Linked DNA regions of Homo sapiens: all the other regions are linked to region 3. The links are contacts of gene promoters, found by promoter capture Hi-C in blood cells and fetal thymus (Javierre and others, 2016). All regions are on one chromosome and are shown on one strand. Each heading gives the region's core, a stretch centred on a gene start or on the middle of the fragment in contact. The rest is flanking DNA. Distances are from core to core; before and after follow the strand shown. Region 1 overlaps MARCHF1 (membrane associated ring-CH-type finger 1). Region 2 overlaps MARCHF1 (membrane associated ring-CH-type finger 1). Region 3 holds the start of MSMO1 (methylsterol monooxygenase 1). Region 4 overlaps MARCHF1 (membrane associated ring-CH-type finger 1). Region 5 overlaps MARCHF1 (membrane associated ring-CH-type finger 1). Region 6 overlaps MARCHF1 (membrane associated ring-CH-type finger 1).

Evidence for each region. Contacts are between HindIII fragments. The CHiCAGO score rates a contact against its expected background, and 5 or more counts as called.
Region 1: a contact is called between a fragment that was not itself captured here and the fragment with the promoter of MSMO1 in region 3, in 1 of 17 cell types (total B cells). The highest score is 7.0, in total B cells.
Region 2: a fragment that was not itself captured here is called in contact with the fragment with the promoter of MSMO1 in region 3 in 1 of 17 cell types (total B cells); the score reaches 8.4 in total B cells.
Region 4: a fragment that was not itself captured here is called in contact with the fragment with the promoter of MSMO1 in region 3 in 4 of 17 cell types (non-activated CD4 T cells, activated CD4 T cells, total CD4 T cells and 1 more); the score reaches 7.9 in non-activated CD4 T cells.
Region 5: a fragment that was not itself captured here is called in contact with the fragment with the promoter of MSMO1 in region 3 in 6 of 17 cell types (total B cells, naive B cells, M0 macrophages and 3 more); the score reaches 10.2 in total B cells.
Region 6: a contact is called between a fragment that was not itself captured here and the fragment with the promoter of MSMO1 in region 3, in 6 of 17 cell types (naive B cells, M0 macrophages, M2 macrophages and 3 more). The highest score is 10.8, in naive B cells.

Annotation. Positions count from the first base shown.
Region 1 is chr4:163,699,800-163,702,499 of GRCh38, reverse strand. MARCHF1 (membrane associated ring-CH-type finger 1) reads left to right here. Exons shown (of 10, transcript NM_001394959.1): 5 at 1,637-1,687. Among named protein-coding and RNA genes, the nearest start is that of TMA16, 210 kb to the right of the region's middle. The HindIII fragment of the contact is 821 bases long and covers 1,008-1,828 here.
Region 2 is chr4:163,569,724-163,572,423 of GRCh38, reverse strand. The region is part of intron 8 of MARCHF1 (membrane associated ring-CH-type finger 1); the gene reads left to right. Among named protein-coding and RNA genes, the nearest start is that of TMA16, 76 kb to the right of the region's middle. The HindIII fragment of the contact is 8,468 bases long and covers 1-2,700 here.
Region 3 is chr4:165,326,382-165,329,081 of GRCh38, reverse strand. It overlaps MSMO1 (methylsterol monooxygenase 1), which reads right to left and starts at 1,413. Exons shown (of 6, transcript NM_006745.5): 1 at 1,318-1,413. RefSeq lists an enhancer at 1,115-1,384 and a silencer at 1,475-1,814. The HindIII fragment of the contact is 2,277 bases long and covers 581-2,700 here.
Region 4 is chr4:163,680,120-163,682,819 of GRCh38, reverse strand. The region is part of intron 5 of MARCHF1 (membrane associated ring-CH-type finger 1); the gene reads left to right. All of the region lies in intron 1 of LOC107986325 (a long non-coding RNA gene), which reads right to left. Among named protein-coding and RNA genes, the nearest start is that of TMA16, 190 kb to the right of the region's middle. The HindIII fragment of the contact is 2,257 bases long and covers 268-2,524 here.
Region 5 is chr4:163,658,748-163,661,447 of GRCh38, reverse strand. The region is part of intron 5 of MARCHF1 (membrane associated ring-CH-type finger 1); the gene reads left to right. Among named protein-coding and RNA genes, the nearest start is that of TMA16, 170 kb to the right of the region's middle. The HindIII fragment of the contact is 5,960 bases long and covers 1-2,700 here.
Region 6 is chr4:163,614,324-163,617,028 of GRCh38, reverse strand. The region is part of intron 5 of MARCHF1 (membrane associated ring-CH-type finger 1); the gene reads left to right. Among named protein-coding and RNA genes, the nearest start is that of TMA16, 120 kb to the right of the region's middle. The HindIII fragment of the contact is 958 bases long and covers 787-1,744 here.

The DNA.
Region 1 (2,700 bases), core at 169-2,668, 1.6 Mb after region 3:
AATCATGTTCTCAAATGTCATGTAAATATAGAAAACATAACAAAATAACCACTGCTACCAGTCTCTCCCAAAGCCTATTATATTATGTGACTCTGTCCTACACAATAATGTGTCAAAATCCTAAATTTCACTGAGAAGGAAAGATGGATTGATTTTGTTTTCTAGTCTCTAGAAGAGGAGTTGAGACGTCAGTAGAAAAGTGCCTCCCTCCATCACCAGTGGAGCTAATCAGGGAAAAATGTCTGTGGTAGCATATACATTAATCTCCAGCTGGAGCATGGGGCTGTTATGAGCTGTAACTAACCGTATCGTTGTGACTCATCTCGGTCTGTAATAACATGCTCCACAGTGACATCAGTGGTTGTATGAGATGGATGTTGCATGTAAAGGAAAAAGTACTGTTCAGCTGGAATATCTGTAAGCCTGCACATGACACAGTGACAGTTTGCAGTGAATGCAGCCACTGTTTTTCTGCAATAACACATCTGCCATATCCTGTCATCACTGTGTCTCTAAAACTGTCTCAAGTAGTCATCATGGGCAATTTCAGCCCCACGGGTTGTTATAACAACTTAGTTCTCAAAAATGACCTATGTCAAGATGCATTGCAGTTGCCTACTCAGGCCCACTTTGGGGCTGAGTCCAGAAGTTAAAAAAAAAACAAAAGGAATTCTTACATTGGTAAATTATTTCAATGACAATGTTATGTCAGATCCTTTATAAACTTTTAGTATTCAGAATTGATTGTTCCAACAACATTTTCTCTACAGAAGTAGAGGTGTCCTTTGATCTTTGATCTCTTTCTACATGTAGAATGCATAATGCTTATAAACTCTGATTTTTCCAGTTGATCATCTATCAGCACATAATTGGCAGAGTAGAAAAAGTAGCTATATAATTTTCAGGAACACAATGTCTCTGGGCTTCAAACGGGAGGGCCCAACTACTTAAGGTCCATTTCTACTTTAAAATTATATGACCTTTTAAAAAACATTTATTCAAAAGCTTTTTTCATGCCTCTTTTCTGCTAAATAAAAAAATTCTTTAAGAGGAAAGAACTGAGGATATAAATATTTATAAAAGTTTTAAGTTTTAATTGAAACATATACAGTCAGAAGCATCTTAAATTTTAAAAAGTAAATGTTTTAATTTCAGAGTATGTAAAATAACAAAAAATAAATAAAATGCAGTTTAGAAGAATACGAGGTGGATGTATATAGCATATACCCAGCACAGAATATTTAATGATATTGAAAACCAGAATTGACTCAAACTTTCCTAGTTGCAAGGGCAAGAGGGGAAATGGTAGACTACAGTTTTACTGTCTAATTTTAGTGCCGAAGAATTTCAAAAATTTTTCTGGAGAAATAATTATTTCCTGGAAACAAATACTTGTAACCTGATTAATACTCAGATATTAATTGAAGCATTTTTAAAGTACACTAATATATATTAGAGAAATATGATTTCATAAAAGAAAAAAGCATTCTGTGTAAGCAATTAATATGTGTATTAGTCAAAACAATATAGAGAGCATTCACAGATTTCCTTGTGCTGTGGTTTCTCTTCTCAGTGGTACAGTATGGTGAAAGTACCATACCTTCTTTTAATTAATGTTTCCCATTTTATTTTTCAGAATGAAAAATCCCCAGGGCGATCTGCAAGTCGATCAAGTAACATTTCAAAAGTAGGTGAAGTACTCATTTTCTTGTTTGTTGACTTCTGCACTTCATGAGTTCACATAAATGTTTATAATGTTTAACCTATAATTGTTATCTGTGAGCAGAACACAAATGTGATTTGTTCATGGTTTTAACTCTTTTAAGCTTTTACTGTAATAAGAAGACATGATTTTACGCAAGAAAATAAGTAGGCTATTTTTTCTTTTTCCATGCTGTGTGCAAGAGATAATTTCCTTCCTTCCTTCCTTCCTTCCTTCCTTCCTTCCTTCCTTCCTTCCTTCCTTCCTTCTTTCTTTCTTTCTATCTATCTTTTTAGACAGAGTCTTACTCTGTCGCCCCAGCTGGTATGCAGTGGTGAGATCTTGGCTCACTGCAACCTCCGCCTTCTGGGTTCAAGCGATTCTCCTGCCTCAGCCTCCTGAGTAGCTGGGATTACCGGTGCCCACCACCATGCCCAGCTAATTTTTGTATTTTTAGTAGAGATGGGGTTTCGCCATGTTGACCAGGCTAGTCTAGAACTCCTGAGCTCATGATCCACCCTCCTCAGCCTCCCAAAGTATTGGGATTACAGGAGTGAGCCACCATGTCTGGCCAATTTGCTACTGTCATAGTATTATGTAAAGTATGTTTTTTCTCTCATTTCAAACACCATAGATCTGCCACATATCCAAGTTGAAACTATATCAACATTCATGGTATAATTCTTATGAATTTAATTTTTCTGGACTTTGGGCTGAACTCTGGGGGAATTTAACTATTTTTGTCACCAAGGCAAGTTTTAGAAATCAATTTGATAAAAACATCAGTTTGGCCATATTTAGAGGTTGTAGAGTCAGTGGATTAAAAAAAAAAAACAAAATATTCCCTAGACTGTATATAAATCTAAGTAGGACCCCAGAGTGTTGAAAAGATTATCGTTTGAGAGACATACTCTAGATTTTATGTTGCCTGAAAAAACAAAATGTAAGAGCTATTCTTTAAAATGAGTCGCCATGTGATATATACACCTGGTGCTTGG
Region 2 (2,700 bases), core at 139-2,638, 1.8 Mb after region 3:
AACAAGGAGACTGGTAGCATATCTTTAAAGTTTCTTCCAACTTAAAATCCTGTGATTTTGTGAAAAGCAAGTGAAGAATCAATTTATTTAAAAAAAAAAAAAAAGGAAGAAAGAGACCTAACATTCAAATGCATTTTAAACGTTCAGAAGAATTTTTAAAAGATATAAAGAAAATCCTTCATATCTACAGTAGCTTAAGTGATGAAGGATAGGATGCTGAATAAGAAGGGGAGTCCAAGACCTAAGCGATAAAGAAACAGCCTGTGTCTGAATCTTTCTCATTACCCTTCAAAGCAAACCATGGTGAGAAAAGCAAGAAGGACTCTCTATATATTTTTTTAAATTTAAAAAGTAGGATGAAAATAGTCAAGTTAGAACAGGGAAGAAAATAGAAGAGAGAAAACGAAAATGTTTGAGGGCAGTTAGCATTTAGGAAGCATCCTGAAAAGTGACTGGAAGCCAGATATAAGTACCTTCGCTACACTTACTTTTTTCCTTATAAGTTGTTGGCAAGTGAGTAAAGGCTAAAATAAAGCAAAAGCAAGTGACAGCAAAGCTCTTCTGCAGCCCTGAGGCATACATGAAAGACTTTTGACCCTAAGAAAAGAGGCTGGATGGGCTGAAAACCATTTTCAACTTGGCACAGTGAAAAAACAAACAAACAAACAAAAAACCCCAGTGTAGATTTGAAGTCTGAGCAAATCAGTTTAGTTAACCTAAGAAATATAACTCTGTTTTCTTAAAGGCTAGGTTTTCTGTAAATGTTAGTTCAATACAAAAACTGATATTTTGAAGGAGTATTTTTATCAATAAACAAAGTTAACAAATTTTGGAGCTAGATCCTTTTCTGTGTCTAGGAAATGAATTATTTCCCAAAAGATTGCTGAGAAGAGAGGACTCTGTTCATACAGAAGACCACACAACAGGCAGCTAGGTCTGAAAGACCACACTGAGAGGGCTCCAGTAACATCCACTTACGATTCATCATTTTTACCTTCATTCAGTAAACAAATATTTACTGAGCACCTGCCGTGTGGCCAGTCATTGTACCTGGCCTAAGATTTTAGTAGTGGACAAGACCAGAATCTTCTGACCTCAGAGAATTTACATTCTGGCAGGACAGAGATGGAGGGAGGGAGTTGGAAAATGAGTTAGTCAAAATAATTTGAAACAGACTTGAAAGTGGTATGGGGAATAATTCTAGTAATTCCAGACAGGTCCAATTCCAACTATTAAAGTATGACTCAAGGGAAATTTGTGGGAATTTTTAGCTGAAGAAATCTTCAATTTCAAAGCTGTCTCTCTGTTCCATTAGGGGAACAATTTAATGAAGAAAATTAAGATAAAAAGGTTGTTGACTGTAGGGAACCAGGGCTAGAAAGATGCATAAAGATTACCCTGTCCAAATTGGATGAGGAAAATTACTAACGGTATCTGTAGAGATCTGCTTAGTCCACAGACAATTTACTTTATATCAGGAACCAGATAGGTAATAAAAATGAATGAAGAGATCTTGTTTTATGATGAAAAATAGCAGATAACAGTACTGAGGGATATGGTAAGGAGTGGTGAGGTCTGTGGCATTCTGAAATAGATGTGCCTACTCTCAAGGGGGATGTCCCTACTAAGTTCTAGCTGATTGTTGCCAAAACTATTTTGCAAATGAAGTGAAAATCGCAGATTTAATCTCTTACCATTTTTAAAATAATAGTAACTAATTCAAATTCAAAAACTCTTCAGGCAAAACAAAAGAGGTCTGAAGGCTAGATTCCGTCCCCAGGCCAAGAATGTATAATCTCTGTGAGGTAGAAATGTTCGTATAACTCTGCAAATATTTTCCTAATGGGATACGGTAAAATACAGTGGAAAGAATCTAGATTTAGTGTGTGGAAGAACTGGATTCACCCTCCCCACCATGTAGTTGTTTGGTGGCTTTGGGTGAGTCCAGTAACCTAAGAGTTTTATTTCAAGAAAGGGAAAGGAGGTAGAAGGTTGGCAATAATACCTAGTTTTTCAACTTTTGGGGGTTCCGTTGAATAAAATGATGTCAGTAAAAGTATTTTGTAGAGTCCTAGAAAATAATGATATTATTGTCTCTCCCATCCCTCCATCATCAACACTGTAGCAGATTCACTGTTTTGTTCTTACCAAATCAGTATTTAGCATTGAATCCACTTTAAGGCCAACAAGAGGGTAGCGTGCACATTTTTAAAGAGCTGACTATTTCTCACTATTTCTCAGGCACTAGATGATTGTGGGGGTTCAATGCATTGATTAATTTGCATATCAGTCATTCAGAATGTATGGCCATCCAGATAAGGGTTATGCTGGCTTAAGTTTACAATCTAGATTATCTATAAAGACCTTGCTGAGCAAATTAATAAAGTAAGCACGATTGAGACAGAAAAACAGTTATACCAAAACCTCTTCAGGAGTTCATTTTAAAAAGTTAATAAAAACAAGTAGCCTTGTCTGACATATTTGAACAATATTTATCTTATGCCTACTTTCTAAAGAGTTGTACTAATTGCTCCAGGCGTTCATTTGCATAAGAATGCCTTATAAGAGTAATAAATAATTGTACAATTAATTACAGATAAGTAACTGTAATAAATCATTGTACAGATGCATTCAAATATTTACCTGAAAGACTTCTCTTACAAAGTAATCCAATAGCCTATAATTTTAATCTACTGCATT
Region 3 (2,700 bases), core at 164-2,663:
ATATGCTGACATCCATCATCTCTATCTCTAGCCCTCTCCCCTAAACTCCAGGATCTAATTATCCAAGTTTACTGGTCATATCCAGTCAGAGAGTTCAGAGGCACATGAACTCACTCAACAGGTCCAAAGGTTCAGTATGTGCTCCTCACAACCCCCGCCCAAATACTAGGCCTCCTTTAATGCCTAATTCTCAGACATAACGTTTTAAGTCTCTCCCATTCTGCTGCCTTAAGTCTTCAAACTCTTACCCAATTTAGAAACACTTGGTTTAGTTAACATTCAGGAATTTACTTTTCACAAAGGAGCGAGGGAATGGATATACTGTTGCTAACCGAACAAGGAATTAAAGAGGAGAGGGGAAACAAGGTCTTGGAAAATTGAATTTCCTTTTCCTTTACTCATTCTTGGGCAACCTAAATGACTGGAAGCCTGTTCTGGAACAGGTTGACTAGATAAATTTAGTTATTTGTGGATTCTCAGAAACCTTGAAGTTTAGCTGTCAGCCAGTCTCTGTCCTTTGGCACTTTAACACGGATTTCACCAGCTCCTTCATTTTCTGGACTTGCCCTGCCTCCAAGCTTGCCCTTCCTAAACCTTATTTCTAAGATGCAATGCCACGATCTATATAAATTTAAACATCAGAGATAACCTCCTTAAAACACTCAAAGTTCAAGGGAGTGCTTGCCCTAAGCATAAAGATCAAGCCCCGCTGTGATTGATGCACACGAGGCCCTTCCAGACTTCTTCACTCTTCATTTCTTACATTCTCGCCATCCTACACTTCACATTTTTGCAGTATCTGATCACTCATGGTTGCTACTGCTTCATTCCTCTCTGCCCACGGAAATATCGTTCCCTTACAGGTGATGTCCTCCCATTCAACTCCTAGTCATCCTTCAGTAACCTCCTCTCGGACGCCCTTCCCAACCCCACTACTCCCAAAGCACACTACATCTTACCTCCTTCTAGTGGTTCCTGCTTTTGTATAACTTTCGCCAGCCTATCACCCTGTGCTGCAACTATCTTCTACGTCCTGTCTCCCGAAGACAACACATTTTAAAGGGCAAGAAACATGCCCTAGCCTAGTTCCATCACTTAAGAATTTCACTCCGTTTTCATCCTTTCTAGCACGTACCTTAGCCTAGGCCCACCTTCACTCCAGTCTCCTTCCGCCCCGTCTCGGGTACCACTGCCAGCGTCCCGCCCAGCGCGTGCATCCGCACCCAGAACCCGCTCCCCTCGATCTCACGGAGCACCGGGTGGGAGCCCGCCTGCTCCCCCTTCCTCGCTCATGAGCCACTCCTCCAACCCCCTCACCTGAACGGCCGCGAGATGACTGCCGGCCACCGACACCGAGGACTCGCCAGGTGTTCCAACCTCGGAACCTGCCTCGCCTGGCTTGGGGGTGGAGCCGGGTGGGCCAGGCGGCCCGTCCTGTCGTTATTGGCCTGCGAGAGCTCCCGCCCCGCCTTCTCGGCGCGGTGATTGGTCTGTGCAGTTGCCGACATCGTGTGACTCGCGCGAACGAGCTCCTGGCGGTCCCAGCCATTGGCTCCGCGGATGGAGTGAGGATAGTGAGACCTGCAGAGCCAGCCAATGGTCGGCACCGCGGAGCGCCCGGAGGCGGGGAAGCGTGAGAGCGCGCCACGGCGTGAGGGGGCGGGCACAGACGGATGGCCGCCTCGCCCTGCAGCGCGGAGTCGCCTTGGCAACTGCGGTCCCGGCAGATTCCCAGTGAGAGCCTGCGCTGTGCGGGGGAGAGTGTCGCGCCGGCCGCCGTCCCAGGACTTTTATTTCAAATGTGACCTGTGTAGCAACCGCAGTTCCCAAACCCGGGAAGAAGAGAGTATAGATGAGTCTTAAAATCTATGTTGACTGTTTTGTGTTTCCAGACACCCTTGCCTTCCTTTTTCTGGTCTACCATTTAGATTTAGATCTTTCGTCTCCCTTGTTTCCCCAGCCTACGTATCCTTTAATAAATTCCTGCATTTTGAAAACGGAGAATTTCAAATGCGATTATCGTCATTTTGCAGATGAGAAATAAAGGCTGGGAAAGATTTAAAAAGATTGAACATCAAGGGAGAGTTCGGCTCCCAGGACCTTGACCTCGCTACATGGGCAGAGAACGCCCAGGTGTTGTTGCAATTGTTGTGCTGGACGATGAGTGCCCGGGGGCGGGGGCGGGGGCGGGGGCTTGACGCAGGTCTTTGCAGCTCTAAAGCTCAGTTTACACCATCTCTCAACATTAAAATATTGTGTACTGGGGTTTAATAATAAAACTGTACAGATGTGATAATATACTAAAACTTTCACTTAACGGAAGAGGTGCCTTTAAAGAAAAAACCGCACAGGGGCATCATTTGGGCTAGTGAAGGCCCTTTTTCCTCCTTCTTTATTAAGGTATAATTGACAAAAATTGTGTTTACGGCGTACACATGTTTTGATTATGTGTATATTGTGTCAAATATATACAGCTTCTGAAAACAGAATACTATTGTTTCATTCCTCCATGCTTTTGCTCAAACTGGCCCTTCTGCCTGGAATAATCAGCCATCTCCATGCCGCCCCATCAATTCAGGTACTATCTCCTTGAGGAAGTTCCCTCTTGAAAAGTGTCTTTTTTAGATTCAGTGTGACCTGTACTTATTCGTCTATCCCTCATGTTTGGCACACACATTCTTTGTAAAGTATCATGACAGC
Region 4 (2,700 bases), core at 147-2,646, 1.6 Mb after region 3:
CTTACGGTTATAGCAGAAGGGGAGGCAAACATGTCCTTCTTCACATGGCAGCAGGAACAGAACTGCTGAGCAAAGGGGGAAAAGCCCCTTATAAAACAATCAGATGTCATGAGAACTCACTATTATGAGAACAGCAGCATGGGGGTAACCACCCCCATGATTCAATTACCTCCCACTGGGTCCCTTCCACAGCATGTGAGGATTATGGGAACTAATCTGGCCCAAGCTGTACCTTGGCCCCTTTTAACCATGGCTGAACCTGAAGCTTAAGCAGCTGGAATGCAGGGCACCACGTCTCGAGGCTGCACAGAGCAGGGGGTCCCTGGGCCCGCGGCACTAAACCATTTCTCCCCCCAGGCCTCTAGGCCTGTGATGGGAGGTGCTGCCACAAAGGTCTCTGCCGTGCCCTAGAGACATTTTCCCCATTGTCTCTTGGTGATTAACATTCGGCCCCTCATTACTTATGCAAATTTCTGCAGCTGGCTTGAATTTCTCCCCAGAAAATGGGTTTTTCCTTTTCTATCACATTGTCAGGCTGCAAATTTTCCAAACTTTCATGCTCTGTTTCCTCTCGAATACTTTGCTGCTTAGAAATGTCTTCCACCAGACACCCTAAATGATCTCTCTCAAGTTCAAAGTTTCACTATCTCTAGGGCAAGGGCAAAATGCTGCCAGTCTCTTGGTTAGAGCATAGTAAGAACAACTTTTATAGTTCCCAACAAGTTCCTCATCTCCATCTGAGACCAGCTCAGCCTGGATTTCATTGTCCATATCACTATCAGCATTTTTGTAAAAGCTGTTCAACAAGTTAAGAAGTTCTAAAGTTTCCCACATCTTCCTGTCTTTTGAGCCCTCCAAGTCTCTAGGAAGTTCCAAACTTTCCCACATTTTCCTGTCTTCTGAGTCCTTCAAACTATTCCAGCCTCTGCCTATTACCCAGTTCCAAAGTTGCTTCCACATTTTCTGGTATCCTTACAGCAACACCCCACTCTACTGCTACCAATTTACTGTATTAGTCTGTTCTCACACTGCTATGAAGAAGTACCTGAGACTGGGTAACTTATAAAGGAAAGAGGTTTAATTGACTCACAGTTCAGCATGGCTGGGCAAGCCTCAGGAAACTTACAATCATGGTGGAAGAAGCAGCAAACACATCCTTCTTCACATGGCAGTAGGAAGAGAAGTGCCAAGCAAAAGGGGAAAAGCCCCTTATAAAACCATCAGGTCTCATGAGTACTCACTATCATGAGAACAGCAGCATGGGGGTAACCACCCCCCATAATTCAGTTACCTGAATTATATGTCATGGGTGCTTCCCATGACATATGGGGATTATGGGAACTACAATTCAAGATGAGATTTGAGGGGAACATAACCAAACTATATCAGCCTATGATGTGACTATCACCCCTAGGGGGCAGTATACTACCTGTGTAACTGTACATGCCAGTTCTGAAAACTCTGCTCAAGGTTTTCCTAAAGAGCTTCCCTTACTTGGCTTGAGATAGATGGAAACATTCTCCCAACCACACGTTATAGCCCTTTTTTTCTATCAATCTTTCTTTCTTTATATAGCCTGAAAATGGTTAATGGTATAAAAAAGTCGGAAAACTAGTCAGGAAAAGGGAGATATCTTAGCAATTCCCATATGCATGTGATAGCACAGCCCTTTAAAATATGGAGATACTGTTTACCGATGCTGTTCGCAAATAAGTTAGTTCCCTTTAATATCTGGTTAGCATTCATCTAATGAGCACCTAATGCACCATATTTATTACATATAAATAATATTTAATATATTTATTAAATATGTTAATATTACATAATGTATTACATATATTATTAGGTACTCAATAATATATATGTGTGTATGTATGTATGTATTAGACACAGTGCTAGGCAACTAGAAATACAATGATGAGCCATACAATTTACAGTGTAATGAGTCATTCAAGCAATAATAAATTATAGAAATACATAATGGTAAACTTCAATAAGTGTTGTGAAAGTGTTTTAAGTCATAGTGAAGCATCATGTAACACAAGTCTGGATTAAAAATGAAGATACAGGATTTATCCCTTAGAAGTGGTGGTTCTAAATATAAGAAATGATATTCCAGGGAGAATATGTAGAAAAAAAGTTTAGAAGTCTAAAGATAGAATGGCAAGAAACACTCCTAGTTCCACAGAGGAAGGATGACAAGGAGCCTGGAAGAATTCAGATGTGGCAAGAGACAGATGAGCAAATCTAGAGAGTGACGACCCACAGAACACCAAAGAGAGTATGTTTCAACAAGAGCTGGTGTTCCAGGGAGCAGATTCCCCAAAGAGCTTAGGGAGGAGTAATACTGAGAAAGATTATTAGGTTTGACAAAGACACAAGTACTAGTTACCTATAACTTCAAAGAAATAGTCCTGAATGTTTTTAAAAGACACAAGGAAGATATTATAGTGTCACAAACAAGAGGGATCCAAATTGGACTGTGGTATCTCAAAAGGCTTTCTGGGTAGGTTAAGCGTAAGCTTAGTTTTAAAAAATAAATTAATATTAGATTTAAAACAAGAAATGTAGCAAAGCTATAGAGAAACAAAAGAGCATGATATTCTGGAACTGCTGGTAGTTGGATCAAACGGTTGCATCTGGAAAAGTGACAGAGAGGGAAACCTGAAATAAGTATAGACCAGATCATGGAAGATCCTT
Region 5 (2,700 bases), core at 41-2,540, 1.7 Mb after region 3:
ATGGCAAAGAAAGTTGTCAGGGCAAAGCAACAGCTTGAAATCATGCCTAAAAAGCCAAAATTTCAGATCACAGAAGAACAGAAGGCTCCAGAGGAAAGTACTATGAAAAACAAAATAAAATTAATAGATTTTCTGATGTATTCGAGTGTGGAGAGAAAATATAACTTCTAGCAAGATGAGGGATGAATTTCAGGGAAGATCATAGAAAATTAAGCAAAAAGCAAAAAGACAGCTAGTAGCAAAAAGTTAGCATAGCAGGTGACTTAATATTCGTGTAGCCAAATTATTATACAATCTTATTTGGAGAACAGAAGAAAGAGATGGATGGGCAAGGGAGGAGTTCAGGAAGAATCAGAAAGACAACTAAATTTCCACAGTAACAAGTCAATAAACAGCATCCAATTAAATAAATAGTGATAATACAACCAAGATTATCAAATTTTTAGGAATACAAAGTGTAAATACCTAAAGAAATATAATACCTCAATGAGCTGAAGGTGATGTGTCTACAGAGGAAGAATCAGAGTGAAAATTATAACCTAGGTCTACTTTGAATTACATAATAGATGAGAAAGAATGGGGAAACATGAGTCAGAGAAAAATGGGAATTTTTTTGAATTTGGATTCTTTAATAGGCTCAAAATAAGTGTCATACAGAGTGTTTATTCACAGGCTTGAATGAGAATTGAAGAAATTCTGACAAGTTTAATATCCGTCTGTGATTAAGTCTGGCAGAATACAGGTCATTGAAACAGACATTTTAATTGAGTTTTATAAAACTATACAAATCTTCCAAGTGATCATAAACCAGTTTCTCATTACATGTGCTTTAACGCAACTTTTTGAAAGTCAAACAATTACAGTTTTTTTTTTTTAAGTTTTACTTTAAGTTCTGGGATACATGTGCAGAATGTGCAGGTTTGTTACATAGGTATACATATGCCATGGTGGACTGCTGCATCTATCCACCCGTCATCTATGTTTTAAGCTCCTCATGCATTAGGTCTTTGTCCTAATGCTCTCCCTCCCCTTGACCCCCACCCACCGACAGGCCCCGGTGTGTGACATTCCTCTCCTTGTGTCCATGTGTTCTCATTGTTCAACTCCCACTTATGAATGAGAACATGCAGTGTTTGGTTTTCTGTTCCTGTGTCAGTTTGCTGAGAATAATGGCTTCCACCTTCATCCATGTCCCTGCAAAGGACTTGAACTCATTATTTTTTATGGCTGCATAGTATTCCTTCATATATATGTGCCACATTTTCTTTATCCAGTCTATCATTAATGGGCATTTGGGTTGGTTCCAAGTCTTTACTATTGTAAATAGTGTTGCAGTAAACGTACATGTACATGTGTCTTTATAGTAGAATGATTTATAATTCTTTGGGTATATACCCAGTAATGAGATTGCTGTGTCAAATGGTATTTCTGGTTCTAAATCCTTGAGGAAACGCCTCACTGTCTTCCACAATGGTTGAACTAATTTACAGTCCCACTAACAGTGTAAAAGCATTCCTATTTCTCCACATCCTCTCCAGCAGCTGTTGTTGTTTCCCAACTTTTTAATAGTCGCCATTCTGACTGGTGCGAGATGGTATCTCATTGTGCTTTTGATTTGCATTTCTCAAATGACCAGTGATGGTCAGCTTTTTTCCGTATGTTTGTTGGCTGCATAAATGTCTTCTTTTGAGAAGTGTCTGTTCATATCCTTTGCCCACTTTTTGATGGGGTTTTTTTTTTCTTGTAAATTTGTTTAAATTCCTTGTAGACTCTGGATATTAGACCTTTGTCAGATGGGTAGATTGCAAAAATTCTCTCCCATTCTGTAGGTTGCCTGTTCAGTCTCATGATAGTTTCCTTTGCTGTGCAGAAGCTCTTTAGTTTAATTAGATCCCATTTGTCAATTTTGGCTTTTGTTGCAATTGCTTTTGGTGTTTTGGTCATGAAGTCTTTGCCCATGCCTATGTCCTGAATGGTACTGCCTCGGTTTTCTTCTAGGGTTTTAACGGTTTCAGATTTTACATTTAAGTCTTTAATCCATCTTGAATTAATTTTTGTATAAGGTGTAAGGAAGGGGTCCAGTTTCTGTTTTCTGCATATGGCTAGCCAGTTTCCCCAGCACCATTTATTAAATAGGGAATCCTTTCCCCATTGCTTGTTTTTGTGAGGTTTGTCAAAGATCAGATGTATACTTTTAAGATAACAGTGTTTAATGAAATTCATGAAAATCATGAATCCTTAGATTTAGGAACATTTATACCTTCTGAGTAAAAATCTAGACTAGAGAAATGTAGTGAATGCAATACACAAAAGACAATGAGGAAGAGCAGAACAAGAAAGATGGCTGACTCTAAATAAACTAATACCATATTTTTCAATGAAAACAATAAAATCCAGAGAACAACAGCATACTATTATGAAAAGATTTTATAAATTGTTAATATAAAATGATATATCCAGCTAAATCATTTTTTTTTCTTTTCTTGATCCTTTTTATTTTAAGTTCCAGGGTACATGTGCAGGATGTGCATGTTTGTTACATAGGTAAACATGTGCCATAGTGGTTTGCTGCACCTATCAACCCATCACCTAGGTATTAAGCCCAGCACACATTAGTTATTTTTCCTAAAGTTCTCCCTCCTCCCACATTCCCCCGACCATCAGGCCCCAGTGTGTGTTGTTCCCCTCCCTGTGTCCATC
Region 6 (2,705 bases), core at 16-2,515, 1.7 Mb after region 3:
CCATTCATCTGCTGATGACCATTTAGATTGAGTCTATATCTATTGTGAATAATGCTACAATAATCATGGGGGTTCACATATCTCTTTGACGAACTGGTTTCCTTTTATTTGAATAAATACCCAGTATAGTGGGATTGCTGGATCATATGGTAGTAATATTTTTAGATTTTAGAGAAATTTCCCTACTGTTTTCCATAATGTCTGTACTAAATTACATTCCAACAATAGTATATATGAGTTTCAATTTCTTTTCATCCTCACACATTCTGGTGAATTTTATTTTGTTACTTTTGTGTGTGTGTGTGTGTGTTTTCAGAGACAGGGGTCTCACTATGTTGCCCAGGCTAGCTTCAAACACCTGGGCTCAAGGAAGCCTCCAGCACATCCTCCCAAGTAGCTCGGACTACAGGCATGCACCGCCATGCCCATTTGCTATATTTTTGATAATAGACATCCTAAGGAGAGTGAGATAACATCTCACTGTGGCTTTGATTTACAGTTCTCTAATTATAGTGATATTGAGCACTTTTTCATATATGTATTGGCCATTTGTCTGTCTTATTTTGAGAAATGTCTATTCAAATCATTTTCCCATTTTACAATCAGATTATTCTTATTACTGCTGTTAAGCTGTTTGGGTTCCTTGTATATTCTATATATTAGTTCCTCATTGGATGTATGGTTTGCAAATATTTTCTCCCATGCTACAGACTGTCTCTTCACTACGTTGATTGTTTTCTTTGTTGTGCAGAGGAAACAATCCTTTGCACAAGCAAGGAGAAAGCTTTGCTTTTTAGTTTGATGTAGTCTCATTTGTCTATTTTGTTTTTTGTTGTCTGTGCTTTTGAAGTCGTACCCACAAAAACTTTTCTAAAAGATCAATGTCCTGAAGCGATTTCTCCATGTTTTTCCTAATAGTCTTTTAGTTTTGGGTCTATATTTAAGTCTTTAATTCATTTTGAGTTGATTTTTATATATAGTGAAAGATAGAAGTCTAGTTTCATTCTTCTTCATATGGATATCCAGTTTACTAAGCATCATTAAGATGTCCTTTTTCCAATGTAAGTTCTTGGCATCTTTGTTGAAAATCAGTTGGCTATAAATACATGGATAATTTCTGAATTCCCTGTTGTGTTCCATGGGTCTATGTGTCTGTTTTTATAACAATGCCATGCTCTTTTGATTACTATGAATTTGTAGCACATTTTGAAGTCAAGTAGTGTGATGCTTCTAGCTTAGTTCTTTTTGCTCAACATTGCTTTGGTTATTTGGGCTCTTTTGTGGTTCTATGTGAATTTTGGGATTGTTTTTTCTATTTCTTCAAATAATTTGCTTGATATTTTGGTAGGGTTTGCACTGAAACTGTAGATTGCTTTGGACAGTATGGTCATTTCAACAATATTAATTCTTCCATTCCATCAGCACAGAATCTTTTCATTTTTTTTTATTCCTCTTCAATTTCTTTCATTACTGTTTTGTACTTTCCATTGTAGAGAGCTTTCACCTTCTTAGTTAAATTTATTCCTAAGTGGGGTTTTTTTGGTCATCATTATAAATGGGATTTCTCTTTTGATTTCTTTCTCATCTACTTTGTTTCACTGGGGTTTGGAAACACTATTGATTTTTGTATGTTGATGTGTATCCTGCAAATTTACTGCATCTGTTTATCAGTTCCAGGAGTTTTTTGGTGGTGTCTTTAGGTCTCTTAACAAATGGTTTCCTCTACCTTAAATATTTTTAAGCTTTTAAAATAATTCCTATTTGCCTTTTAAGATTAGCTGGATCGTTACCTCCTTATTAATTTCCTATAACTACTATCATAGGGATCACCCCACCTCCTGGGACCTAACCTGCTGCAACATGGCACCATTTTGAGAGCAGAGCCACCACCAGAATACATCACGTCCTGGGATCCAGTAGTCTCTGCATCTGCATTTCCCTGGGGCTTTGTCGTCTTATAGTTCTAGAGGTCAGAAGCCAAATAGAGATCCCACTGGGCTAAAATCAACATGTTAATAGGGCTGAATTCCTTCTGGAAACTCTAGAACTCATTTTCTAGCCTTTTTAAGCTTCCCCATGCCACCTTCCTCAGGGTTTCCCTTTTTTCACCTTGAAAGCCATCAGTGTAGTATCTTCCTCCTTTCTTACCTCTATTCATATTCTTCATCTTCTCTCTCTGACTAACTCTACTGCCTCCCTCTCATAAGGATCCTAATGGTTACATTGGGTTTACCAGTATAATTTGCATAAATCTCCTCAACTCAAGATGGTTAACTTAATCACATCTGCAAAGTCCCTTTTACCATAAAAGGTAAAATATTCACTATCCAAAGATTAGGATGTTGAGATATTTGGGGGGACCATTATTTAGCCTACTATACCTTCTCTTCAAATATGACCTGATCTCTTGAGTTAGAATTTGTTCCTTTTTCTCTGGATTTCAGAATCATGATTACATAGTTCCAATATGAGAATTTTTAGAATGACTTCGAAATTTGGGGTAATCTTTTTACCTTTACTGTTATTTTCTTGGTGACGAAATTGTGCATTTCATCTCTGCAGTCAAACAGGCCTGAATCTGGACCCAGATCTCCACCCATAGTGGAGCCAGATACCTGGTCCAGATCTCAGCGTTACCACCTATCAGTGAGAAGCAGCCCCAATTTTTCAGTTTCCTCAGCTGTAACATGTATGTAATTATAGTA